2 separate regions of the Homo sapiens genome follow, and region 1 is linked to region 2. Evidence: promoter capture Hi-C in 16 types of primary human blood cells and fetal thymus (Javierre and others, 2016). All regions are on one chromosome and are shown on one strand. Each heading gives the region's core, a stretch centred on a gene start or on the middle of the fragment in contact. The rest is flanking DNA. Distances are from core to core; before and after follow the strand shown.

Evidence for each region. The method cuts DNA at HindIII sites, captures the fragments that hold promoters and counts their contacts. A CHiCAGO score of 5 or more calls a contact.
Region 1: the fragment with the promoter of EXOSC5 here is called in contact with a fragment that was not itself captured in region 2 in 1 of 17 cell types (naive CD8 T cells); the score reaches 5.4 in naive CD8 T cells.

What each region holds. Positions count from the first base shown.
Region 1 is chr19:41,395,955-41,401,417 of GRCh38, reverse strand. EXOSC5 (exosome component 5) reads left to right here and starts at 4,059. Exons shown (of 6, transcript NM_020158.4): 1 at 4,059-4,237. The coding sequence starts at 4,090. BCKDHA (branched chain keto acid dehydrogenase E1 subunit alpha) reads right to left here and starts at 3,600. Exons shown (of 9, transcript NM_000709.4): 1 at 3,483-3,600. The coding sequence starts at 3,590. RefSeq lists enhancers at 2,745-3,416, 3,572-3,851, 3,417-4,089 and a silencer at 3,848-4,136. The HindIII fragment of the contact is 9,689 bases long and covers 1-5,463 here.
Region 2 is chr19:40,655,270-40,661,605 of GRCh38, reverse strand. No RefSeq gene overlaps it. Among named protein-coding and RNA genes, the nearest start is that of NUMBL, 32 kb to the left of the region's middle. The HindIII fragment of the contact is 1,018 bases long and covers 2,198-3,215 here.

The DNA.
Region 1 (5,463 bases), core at 2,810-5,309, 740 kb before region 2:
GACTATTTCTTCATCTCCACCTGGATAAAACTGCATCATCTTAGCCAGGCATGGTGGCTCACACCTGTAATCCCAGCACTCTGGGAGGCCGAGGTGGGTGGGTCGCCTGAGGTCGGGAGTTCAAGACCAGCCTGATCAACATGGAGAAACCCTGTCTCTACTAAAAATACAAAATTAGCCAGGCATGGTGGTGCATGCCTGTAATCCCAGCTACTCGGGAGGCTGAGGCAGGAGAATCGCTTGAACCCAGGAAGAGGAGGTTGTGGTGAGCCAAGATCATGCCATTGCACTCCAGCCTAGGCAATGAGAGCAAAACTCCACCTCGAAAAAACAAAAAACAAAACAAAACAAAAACCCTGCACCATCTAATGTGGCAGCCACCAACCACTTGTGGCTATCTTATTTTGAGACAGAGGGCTGCTCTGTCACCTAGGCTGGGGTATAGTGGTGCGATCTCGGCTCACTGCAATCTCCGCCTCCCAGGTTCAAGCGATTCTTCTGCCTCAGCCTCCCAAGTAGCTGGGACTACAGGCACACGCCATTACGCCCAGCTAATTTTTTTGTATTTTTAGTAGAGATGGGGTTTCACCATGTTGGCCAGGCTGGTCTTGAACTCCTGGCCTCAGGCAACCCGCCCACCTTGGCCTCTCAAAATGCTGGGATTACAGGCATGAGCCACCGCACCCAGCCCACTTGTGGCTACTTAAACTTAAACTCATGATAATTTAATAATATGGCCAGGCAAGGTGGCTCACGCTTGTCATCCTGCACTTTGGGAGGCTGAGGCAGGAAGATCGCTTGAGTCCAGGAGTTCAAGACCAGCCTGGAAAACATGGCAAAACCCCATCTCTACAAAGATTTAAAAATTAGCCAGGCGCAGCCAGGCACAGTGGCTTATGCCTGTAATCCCAGCACTTTGGGAGGCCGAGGCGGGCAGATCACCTTAGATCAGGAGTTCAAGACCAGCCTGGTCAACATGGTGAAACCCCATCTCTACTAAAAATACAAAAATTAACTGGGTATGGTGGCGCACGCCAGTAGTCCCAGCTATTTGGGAGGCTGAGGCAGGAGAATCACTTGAACCTGGGAAGTGGAGGTTGCAGTGAGCCGAGATCGTGCCACTGCACTCCAGCTTGGGTGACAGAGCAAGACTCCGTCTCAAAAAAAAAAAAAAAAATTAAAAATTAGCCAGGCGTAGTAGCACGTGCCTGTGGTCCCAGCTACTTAGGAGGTGGAGGTGGGGGGATTGCTTGAGCCCAGGAGGTTGAGGCTGCAGTGAGCCATGATCACACCACTGCACTCACTCCAGCCTGGGTGACAGAGTGAGACCTTGTCTCAAAAAAAGAAAAGGCTAGGCGCAGTGGCTCATGCTTTTGGAGGCCAAGACAGGCGGAACTTGAGGCCAGAAGTTCGAGACCAGCCTGGACAACATGGTGAAACCTCGTCCCTACCAAAAATACAAAAATTAGCCAGGCGTGATAGTGCATGCCTGTAATCCCAGCTACTAGGGAGGCTGAGGCAGGAGAATTGCTTGAACTCGGCAGGCAGAGATTGCAGTAAGTCAAGATCATGCTGCTGCACTCCAGCCTAGGCGAGAGAGTGAAACTCTGTCTCAAAAAAGAAAAAAAAAGAAAAAGGAAAGAGAGGTACAGAAAGAAAGAGAGAGAGAAAAGAGAAGAGAAAAGGAAAGGAAAGGAAAGGGAAAAAGAAAAGAAAAGAAAAAGGAGAGGGGAGGAGAGGAGAGGAGAAGGAGAGGAAAGAAAGAAGAAGAGAGAAAGAACAGGTGGGAGAAATAAAGGGGAAAAAACAATAACTCTTAAGATAATACAAATTTAAATATATATAAATAAAAAGTAGGGACTTCTTCCCTCCCCACTCCCCACCAAAAATGAAGTAGGGGAAGCAAGAGGAAAGGTAATCAAGAGATTGAGACAGGAGAGAAAGATTTAATCAGCCATAAATGACCTTTCCCTAGCCTGCCCCAGTCCTGCCCACCTCCTGCCCCACTTGCCCAGCCAATGGGCCCCTGGGACTGAGATCAGCTGTGGAGGATATGAACTGCTCAAAAAAAAAAAAAAAAAAAAAAGTGAAAAGGTCTCCAGCCCAAAGGCAAGAGACTGCCCTACCCACACCTTGCTCCTGCAGCCCTTCTGTATTTACCTGTTTCAAGTGACTCCGTTCCTAGATACCTACTACGTCCTACTCCTGGCCCATCTTCTTCACCCTCCTCCCGTTTGTTCCCCTACCCAGAGCTTCTTTCTACAGATTCCATCTTCCCCTCCTTATGGATTGGGGATCAGAGGATCAGACTCAACCTCACAATATCTTTTCAGATTTTTTTCCCCAGGGCCTCACCAATCCAGGCCTTCCCAAGGTCACCCCTTTCTTCTCCCCATCTCCAAGGTTAGTTTCTGTCCCTTCCCTCCACCCTCACTATCAACATTCCTATTGCCCTTAGGATGTGCCAGGTCCAGTCCTTAGCATTTTACATATTGATTTTTCACAGCCCTATGAGGTGGCCACTGTTAATATTTTAGAGAGGAAAATTAGCTCCATAGATCCAGAGAAGTGCAGTCCGTTGGCCAAGGCTACACAAGTGGAAAGCGGCAGAGCAAGGACATGCATCCACCCATGTAACCACTACTCTCCTATCTGTCAACTGTAGTTCAAAGCTCTTCTGCAACCCATTGCCTCTCCCCGTCTAAAGATAGGCTTCCACCTAGGTTTTTTGCAGTGTAATCTTGCCCTTAGCAGCATCCACCTGAAGGGATTGTGACCCTTTTGACAAGAAACAAAGCCTTCTCAAGTGTTTCTAAGAAATGTGGGCAAAGTGCCCTGTCTGTACCTCTCTCCCTCCTTTTTTCCCCTCATTAATTCAACAAATATTAATCGTCTCCTCTGTACAGTGTCCAGAACACACGAATTCTCTGTCTTGATATTCGATCAAGAGACACAGGAATCAAACAAATTTTTTACACAATTCATTTTAAAATCAGAATTGTGGCAAAGGAGCAAAGAAATACAAGGCCCTATGCAGCCTGTGACAGGGACCTGTTCTCTTCTTTCTTCTTCTTGAAGAGGGATCTTTGCCCAGAAGAAAGTCCCTCCCTTACAAAGTCAGTTTCATTCTCCAAACCCTGAGGGAGAAGGTCTTGCGGTCTTCCCCTGTTCCTCCAAGGAGCCTCCCCTGAATACCAGTGGCAGCTAATAAGGAACCCCCATCTCTCTCTTCAAGTCGTCTCCCTCAGGGCCCACAAAGAAGTTGCAAACGGGTTTTTTCCTCTCCTAAAGAAGTGGAAGTTCTTTTCGTCTCCTAAGGAAGTGGCAGATCTTCCCTTCGGTGTCTTCTCCAAGGAGTCTCCCACTCTTTTTCCCTTTTGTGACAGCCCTTCCTTCATATCCTTCAGGGACCCCACACTCTGAAGATAGCCTTTACATCCCTAATCCCCTTTGGGAAAACCGCCTGGGGCCCAGGTACTCACAGATCTAGCCAGTCCCCGAGCCCCAGGCTGCCGCAGCAGCAGGAGGGCAGCCTGGCTCAAACCACGGTTTAGCCGCCAGACCCTCGCTGCAGCGATCGCTACCGCCATCTTGGCTAACAACCACTCAGCGGTCCGGCACTCACGTAGGCTAGATTCGGGGCTGCCTCTTTATGTGCCTGACGCAAACTCCAGCACCATCTGACAAGAAAACCATCTTCTTCCCGTTCTGTGGTAGATAGAATGCACAGAGATTTGGAGAAAAAAAAATCTATCTACCCAAAATTTTCTCCAATCGCCTCATTGTAGTTACTCCTGTAACAGGCAAAGAAGAGGGCAACCTGACCAGGGCCTCAGGGATTTAGGGCCCGGGGGCCCAGAGTAAAGCGGATCAATGCCAAGGCCTGCCTTCTGTTCCCAAATGTCCAATGGCGTTGCCAGAGTTAGGAGGTGGGACTGGGCGGAGCCAGATTGTTGGTAAACGCTAAGCCACGTGCGGACGCCCAGGAGGATGGCCCAGCCCGGCGCGTGCGCACTGGTTACGCAGCCTGTTTGCGGCGCGCGCTGCCAGGCGGAAGTGACAACTGCAGCCGCACGTGGGCTCGGCGCGATGGAGGAGGAGACGCATACTGACGCCAAAATCCGTGCTGAAAATGGAACAGGGTCCAGCCCTCGGGGTCCTGGCTGCAGCCTCCGGCACTTTGCCTGCGAACAGAACCTGCTGTCGCGGCCAGATGGCTCTGCTTCCTTCCTGCAAGGTAAGAACTTCACCCAGGTCTTTCTTTTGGAGAGGGACTACCGTGTACTGTGCAACCGAGTGCCCACCTCCTCACGATACCAGCTGGTAAATGTCACTCCTGCGTTGATGCATGATTTCTTGTCCGATTGAATACTACTAAATACGCAGGGATACACACATCTCTCCCTCACGACTAGAAAGGAGAAGATAGTTCCATCTTTGTAACTATCTCTGAGAATGAGAGGAGGGGCAGACTGTCCGCCCAAGAATTGATATTTCAGAATAGGGAAAATCACCTCGCCAGGGTAAATATCCCCCTTAACTCGATTCCTCCTCCACCCTCCCACCCCCACCCCCCACACACACACCCTCTAGGTCCTTGCATCCCGGACTGAAGCAAACCTGTCTATTTGCATACTGTGGACTGTGGCGGATCTTTCACCCACGTAAATACTCCTCAAATTGAAGATAATGTCATTGCGCTGGGTTGAGAAATACATCCCCACCGCTACCTCACTGCATCTCTCCACACAAGTAAATATCCCTAAGATTAGGGCAAGTCAAAAAAAAAAAAAAAAAAAAGATTAGGGCAAGTCTTACCTATAGAGCAAATATCCCCTTTTCCTAGCTAAATAACTCTCAGAAGTAGATTAACTCCAAGAATATTTCTCTTTAACGTTTGAGACGGGAGGCCGGGGGCGGTGGCTCACGCCTGTAATCCCCACACTTTGGGAGGCCAAGACCTGTGGCTCACCTGAGGTCAGGAGTTCGAGACCAGCCTGGCCAACATGGCGAAACCCTGTCTCTACTAAAAATACAAAAACTAGCCAGGCATGGTGGCGGGCGCCTGTAATCCCAGCTACTCGGGAGGCTGAGGCAGGACAATCACTTGAACCTGGGAGGCAGAAGTTGCAGTGGGCCGAGATCGTGCCATTGTACTCCAGCGTGAGCGACAAAGCAAGACTCTGTCTCAAAAAAAAAAAAAATTGAGACAGCGTCTCACGATGTCACCCAGGTTGGTCTTGAACTCCTGGGCTCAAGCAATCCTCCTCCCAAAGTGCTCATACAGGTATGAGCCACCACGCCCAGCCCCAATACATTTTAACAAAATTTGGCTGCTGTGTTGATTGTGGGGAGTATGGGGGAAAACAGGGAGGTGATGGTGGCTCCAGCCAGAGCAGGAGTAGTGGAGGTGATGAGATTCTGGATGTAGTTTGAAAGTAATACGGACAAAACTTACGTATA
Region 2 (6,336 bases), core at 1,457-3,956:
CTTGAGGCCAGGAGTTCAAGACCAGCCTGGAAAATATAGTGAGACCCCCCCCCCCACCCCGATCTCTACAAAAAAATTTTTTTTTTTAATTATCAAGGTGTGGTGGTGCACACCTATAGTCCCAGTAACAGGAAGCTGAGGTGGGAGGATTGCTTGAGCCCAGGAGGTCGAGGCTGCAGTGAGCCATGATTGTGCCACTGCACTCCAGCCTGGGTGACAGAACAAGACCATCTCTACAGAAAAAAAAAAAAAAAAAAAAAAGAGAGAAAAAGAAGGGTCTTCCAAAAATTCATGGAAAATGTGTATTATGAAAAAACTATGCATGGAGTTCAATTTTTTTTTTTTGCACCAAAATAAATTCATACTAACTTGTTATAACTTGTCTGAACAGGACCTAGTTTGAGACACTAAAATAAAACATCAGATTGAAAAGAGCCCCTATCAGAGCAACACGAATTCTAAAATTGAAGCAAGAACAAGCATCAAATTGATGGTGAAGCTTGGGTGGAAGAATGATGAAATCATTGATGTTTTCCAAAAACTTGACAGTGCCCCAGAGAAATCAGCCATTTACAAATGGATAACTCGTTTTAAGAAGGGACAAGTTCGGGCGTGGTGGTTCACGCCTGTAATCCCAATACTTTGGGAGGCTGAGGCCAGCGGATCATTGGAGCTCAGGAATTCGAGACCAGCCTGGGTAACATGGTGAAACCCCATCCGTACAAAAAATACATAAATTAGCTGGGTGTGGTGGTGCACACTTGTAGTTCCAGCTACTCAGGAGGCTGAGGTGGGAGGATCACTTGAGTCTGGGAGGTAGAGGTTGCAGTGAGCCGTGATTGCGCCACTGCACTCCAGCCTGGGTCATGCTGAAGATGAAGCCCACCGTGGCATACCATCCACATCAATTTTTGCAGAAAAAAATTAAATTTGTTTATGCCTTAATTAAAGAGGACTTACAGTTAACAGCAGAAACAATAGCCAACACCATAGACATCTCAATTGGTACAGCTTACACAATTCTTTTTTCTTTTTTTTTTTTTTTTTTTTTGAGACAGGGTTCTCATACTGTCGCCCAGGCTGAGTACAGTGGTGAGATTGTGGCTCACTGCAGCCTCAACCTCCTGGGCTCAAGCGATCCTTCCACCTCAGCCTCCGAAGTAGTTGGAACTACAGGTGCGTGCCAGCACGTTCAGCTAAGTGTCACACGCGTCCCTGTGAAGAGACCACCAAACAGGCTTTGTGTGAGCAACAAGGCTGTTTATTTCACCTGGGTGCAGGCAGGCTGAGTCCAAAAAGAGAGTCAGCAAAGGGTGGTGGGATTATGATTAATTCTTATAGGTTTTGGGATAGGCGGTGGAGTTTGGAGCAATGTTTTGCGGGCAGGGGGCGGATCTCACAAAGTTCATTCTCAAGGATGGGAAGAATTACAAAGAAACTTCTTAAGGGTGGGGGAGATTACAAAGTACATTGATCATTAGGGTGGGGCAGAAACAAATCACAATGGTGGAATGTCATCAGTTAAGGCTATTTTCACTTCTTTTGTGGCTCTTCAGTTGCTTCAGGCCACCTGGATGTATACGTGCAGGTCACAGGCGATATGATGGCTTAGCTTGGGCTCAGAGGCCTGACACTAAATTTTCGTATTTTTTGTAGAGATGGGGGTCTCATTAGGTTTCCCAGGCTGGTCTTGAACTCCTGGACACAAGTGATCCTCCTGCCTCATTCTCCCGAACTGCTGGGATTACAGGCTTGAGCCACCTCACCCGGCCTCAGCTTACACAATTCTGACTGAAATTAAAGCTAAACAAACTTTCCACTCGATGGGTGCCAGAACGGTCGCACCCAGATCAGCTGCAGAGAAGAGCAGAGCTTTCCATGGACATGCTAAACAAGTGAGATCGAGATCCTAATGCATTTCCTTGAAGGATTGTAACGGGAAATGATACATGGTTTCACGGGTGCAATCCTAAAGACAAATCGTAATCAGAGAATGATTGCCAAGAGCGGGGAAGTGATCCAGTCAAGGCAGAAGCACACTGGTCAAGAGCAAAGGTCATAGCAACAGTTTTTGGGGATGCTCAAGGCATTTTGCTGGTTGACTTTCTGTAGGGTCAAAGAATAATAAGATCTGCTTATTATGAGAGTGTTTTGAGAAAGTTAGCCGAAGCTTTAGTAGAAATAAGCCTGGGAAGCTTCACCAGAGAGTTCTTCTCCAGCATGTCTACGCTTCTGCTCATTCTCCTCATCAAACGAGCAATTTTACAAGTTTTGATGGGAAATTATTAGGCATCCACTTGGCAGTCCCAATTTGGCTCCTTCTGACTTTTTGTTTCCTAATCTTAAAATCTTTGAAGGGCACCCATTTTTCTTCAGTTAAGAATGTAAAAAGACTGGGCTGGGCGGAGTGGCTCACGCCTGTAATCTTAGCATTTTGGGAGGCCAAGGAGGGTGGATCACCTGAGGTTGGGAGTTCAAGACCAGCCTGACCAACATGGCAAAACCCTGTCTCTACTAAAAAAAAAAATACAAAAATTAGCCAGGTGTGGTGGCTCATGACTGTAATCCCAGCTAGTCGGGAGGCTGAGGCAGGAGAATCACTTGAACCCAGGAGGTGGAGGTTGCAGTGAGCCGAGATCATGCCACTGCACTCCAGCCTGGGCAACAAGAACAAAAAAAAAAGGCCTGGCACAGTGGCTCACAACTGTAATGCTAGCACTTTGGGAGGCCGAGGCGGGCAGATCACCTGAAGTTAGGAGTTTGAGACCAGCCCGGCCAACTTGGCAAAACCTCGTCTCTACTAAAAAAAAAAAAATTAGCCAGATGTGGTGGTACATGCCTGTAGTCCCAGCTACTCAGGAGGCTGAGGCAGGAGAATGGCTTGAACCCGGGAGGCAGAGGTTGCAGTGAGCCGAGATCATACCACTGCACTCCAGCCTGAGCAACAGAGTGAGATTCCATCAAAAAAAAAAAGAAAGAGAAAATGTAAAAAGGCTGCACTGACATGATTAAATTCCTGGGACCCTCAGTTATTTAGGGATAGACTAAATGGCTGGTATAATGGTTTACAAAAGTGTCTTGACTTTGACCTTGATGGAGTTTATGGTGAGAAATAAAGATTTTTTTAAAATTTTTATCTCTTAATTCCATTCTCCATCAACTTTTTGAATTCCCCTCATAACACAATAGCAATTTGTAGCTCATACCTATAAGCTTAGATAGCATACAGTAGCTCATACCTATAAGCTTAAGTAGACATTTACATAACTTTTAGATATCTATAGTACGTAGATAGCTACAGATCAATGTAGATGTCGAAAGAGAAAGAGCGAGACCAGGCCAGGTGGTTCACGCCTGTAACCCCACTGCTTTGGAAGACTGAAGCAAGGGGATCGCCTGAGGCTGGAGGTTCCAGACCAGCCTAGACAACATAGCAAGAACTCATGTCTACAAAAAAATTCTTTTCATTAGCTAGGTATAGTGGCACACACCTGTAGTCTGGGCTACTCGGGAGGCTGATGCAGGAGGGTCTCCCGTGCCTAGGAGTTTGAGGCTGCAGTGAGCTATGATCGAATCATCGTACTCCACCTGGGCAACAGAGAAAGACCCTGCCTCTTAAAACACAAAGAAATAGGCCCAGCACAGTGGCTCACGTTTGTAATCCAAGCACTTTGGGAGGCCAAGGTGGGGGGAATCACTTGAGCCCAGGAGTTTGAGAACAGCCTGGGCAACATGGTGAAAACCCGTCTCTACAAAAAATACAAAAATTAGCTGGGTGTGGTGGTGGGCACCTGCAGTCTCAGCTACTCAAGAGGCTTAGAAGGGAGGATCGCTTGAGCCTAGCAGGTTGAGGCTGTAGTGAGCTGTGATCACACCACTGCACTCCAGCCTGGGCAACAGAGTGAAACCCCATCTCAAAAACAAACAAACAAACACACACACACAAACCAAAACAAAAACAAAAACACAAAAGGCCAGGTGTGACGGTTCACGCCTGTAATCCAGCACTTTGGGAGGCCAAGGCAGGCGGATCACCTGAGGTCAGGAGGTCAAGACCAGCTGGCCAACGTAACAAAACCCTATCTCCACTGAAAAATACAAAAATTAGCTGGGCATGGTGGTGGGTGCCTGTAATCCCAGCTACTTGGAAGGTTGAAGCAGGGAGAATTGCTTGAACCTGGGAGGCAGAGCTTGCACTGAGATCGCACCATTGCACTCCAGCCTGGGTGACAGAGCAAGACTCCGTCTCAAAACAAAAACAAACAAAAAACTGCAAAAACCTAGTGAATCCATATCCACAGTATATTATTATATCTTCTACTTTTCTTGCAATTCTTTTGCATGTTTAGAAATTTTCTAAATAGAAGGGTGGGGGTAGGGGTGTGGTAAGCATCTGCCTTAGAGGAAAGCAGGAATTGTCCATGAGTGGCATATGTGGAATGAGGAGAGGAAGTGCCTCCATATTGCCTGGGTTTCTGGCTTGAGGTCCCAGGTAGAGACATTTTTGAGACTGGGAAGATTGTGATCGTGGAGGGGAATAGGTGTGAAGGGGAAAAATCAACGGTTTAAGAATGACCACCAAGTGTTGGTCAGAGGCTTGTCAAGAAAAAAGAAACCACATGAAGTATTTCAACAAGAAAATTGAATGTAAGGATCTACCTTTCAAAGCAGGTGAGTCTCGAAGGCACTGGAATGTGTGGCTGGAGCTCTGAGGAGGGGGTGGGCTGGGGCCAGGCACAGAAGATACCAGGGATGTATTCATTGCAACACAGGGAGGGTGGATGGACAGCTGAGTAAAGACAAGACCCCTCTCTGGGTACAGCTGTGTAACTGAAGGCAGAGGCATGTGGAGAATGGGTTGTCTTAAGAGTGGGTCAGCCTGGGGCACACATTTCCTTTTCTGAGCAGTGGCCCAGCAGGCTCTAGAATGGGGTTGAGGCATAGTTTCCAGAGGTTTTTTCTTTTTAGAAGTCACCTGCTTATTATTTTTTGCTTTATGCACTCATAGGAGAGTGAAGATGAAAAAGATTATGAAAGAGAGAAATTGATTCACTTTTGAGGATCCCCAGGGTTTTGGAACAATCTTTGAAAACCCCTTCAGTCACAATATTTTGTGGCTCTCTCTTAACTTGTGCAGTTAATCCATAATGGTTGGGGTTTCAGCAGGTTTGCCATTATGACAAGTGCTGTGGTGGACATCCTTGTTGCTAAATTCTTCTGTACACATGAAATCATTTTTTTTAATTTTAAAATTTCTTTTTTTCCTTTATTTTTTATTTTCTTTCCTTAAATACTCTCCTATTCCAGAATAAAACCATCTTTTTTTTTTTTTTTCTCGAGATGGAGTCTTGCTCTGTCACCCAGGCTGGAGTGCAATGGCACGATCTTGGCTCACTGCAATCTCTGCCTTCTGGGTTCAAGAGATTCTCTTGCCTCAGCCTCCCGAGTAGCTGGGATTACAGGCCTGTGCCACTAGGCATGGCTAATTTTTTGTATTTTTAGTAGAGGCGGGGTTTCACCACGTTGGCCAGGCTGGTCTCGAACTTCCTGACCTCGTGATCCACCCACCTCAGCCTCCCAAAGTGCTGGCATTACAGACGTAAGCCACCACGCCAGGCCGAATAAAACCATTTTTAATTGACTTATTTATCCTCCCCACCCCTTTTCAATGACTTGGAAATCAGGATGTGTCTTATAAATGATTATGTGTCATAGTTTAACTGGCAGCTGTTTTTTCTCCCCTGGGGATTTGAAGTGACAATGCATCTTGGCTGGGTGTGGTGGCTCACCCTTGTAATCCCAGCATTTTGGGAGGCTGAGGCGGGTGAATCACTTGAGGTCAGGAGTTTGAGACCAGCCTGGCCAACATGGTGAAACCCCATCTCTACTAAAAATACAAAACTTAGGCGTGGTAGGGCACACCTGTAATCCCAGCTACTCAGGAGGCTGAAGCAGGAGAATTGTTTGAACCTGGGAGGTGGAGGTCGTAGTGAGCTGAGATCGCACCACTGCACTCCCACCTGGGCAACAGAGCAGGACTCTGTCTCAAAATAAAAATAAAAAATAAAATAAAATAAAATAAAAAACAATGCATCTTACCTTTGATGGCTTCTTGGATTTGAATGATTACTGTAATAACAGTAATACTCAGCGTAAACACCCACATAACACTGTGTGCCAAGGTAACTCTTATAACAACGCTGAGAGGCAGATACTATTATTGTCTCCATTTTCCAGAAGAGAAACTGAGCCACAGAGTGGTTAAGGAACTTGGCCCAAAGTCACACAGCTAGAAAGCAATGAAGGGGAGCAGAACCCAGAAAGTGGCTCCAGGGT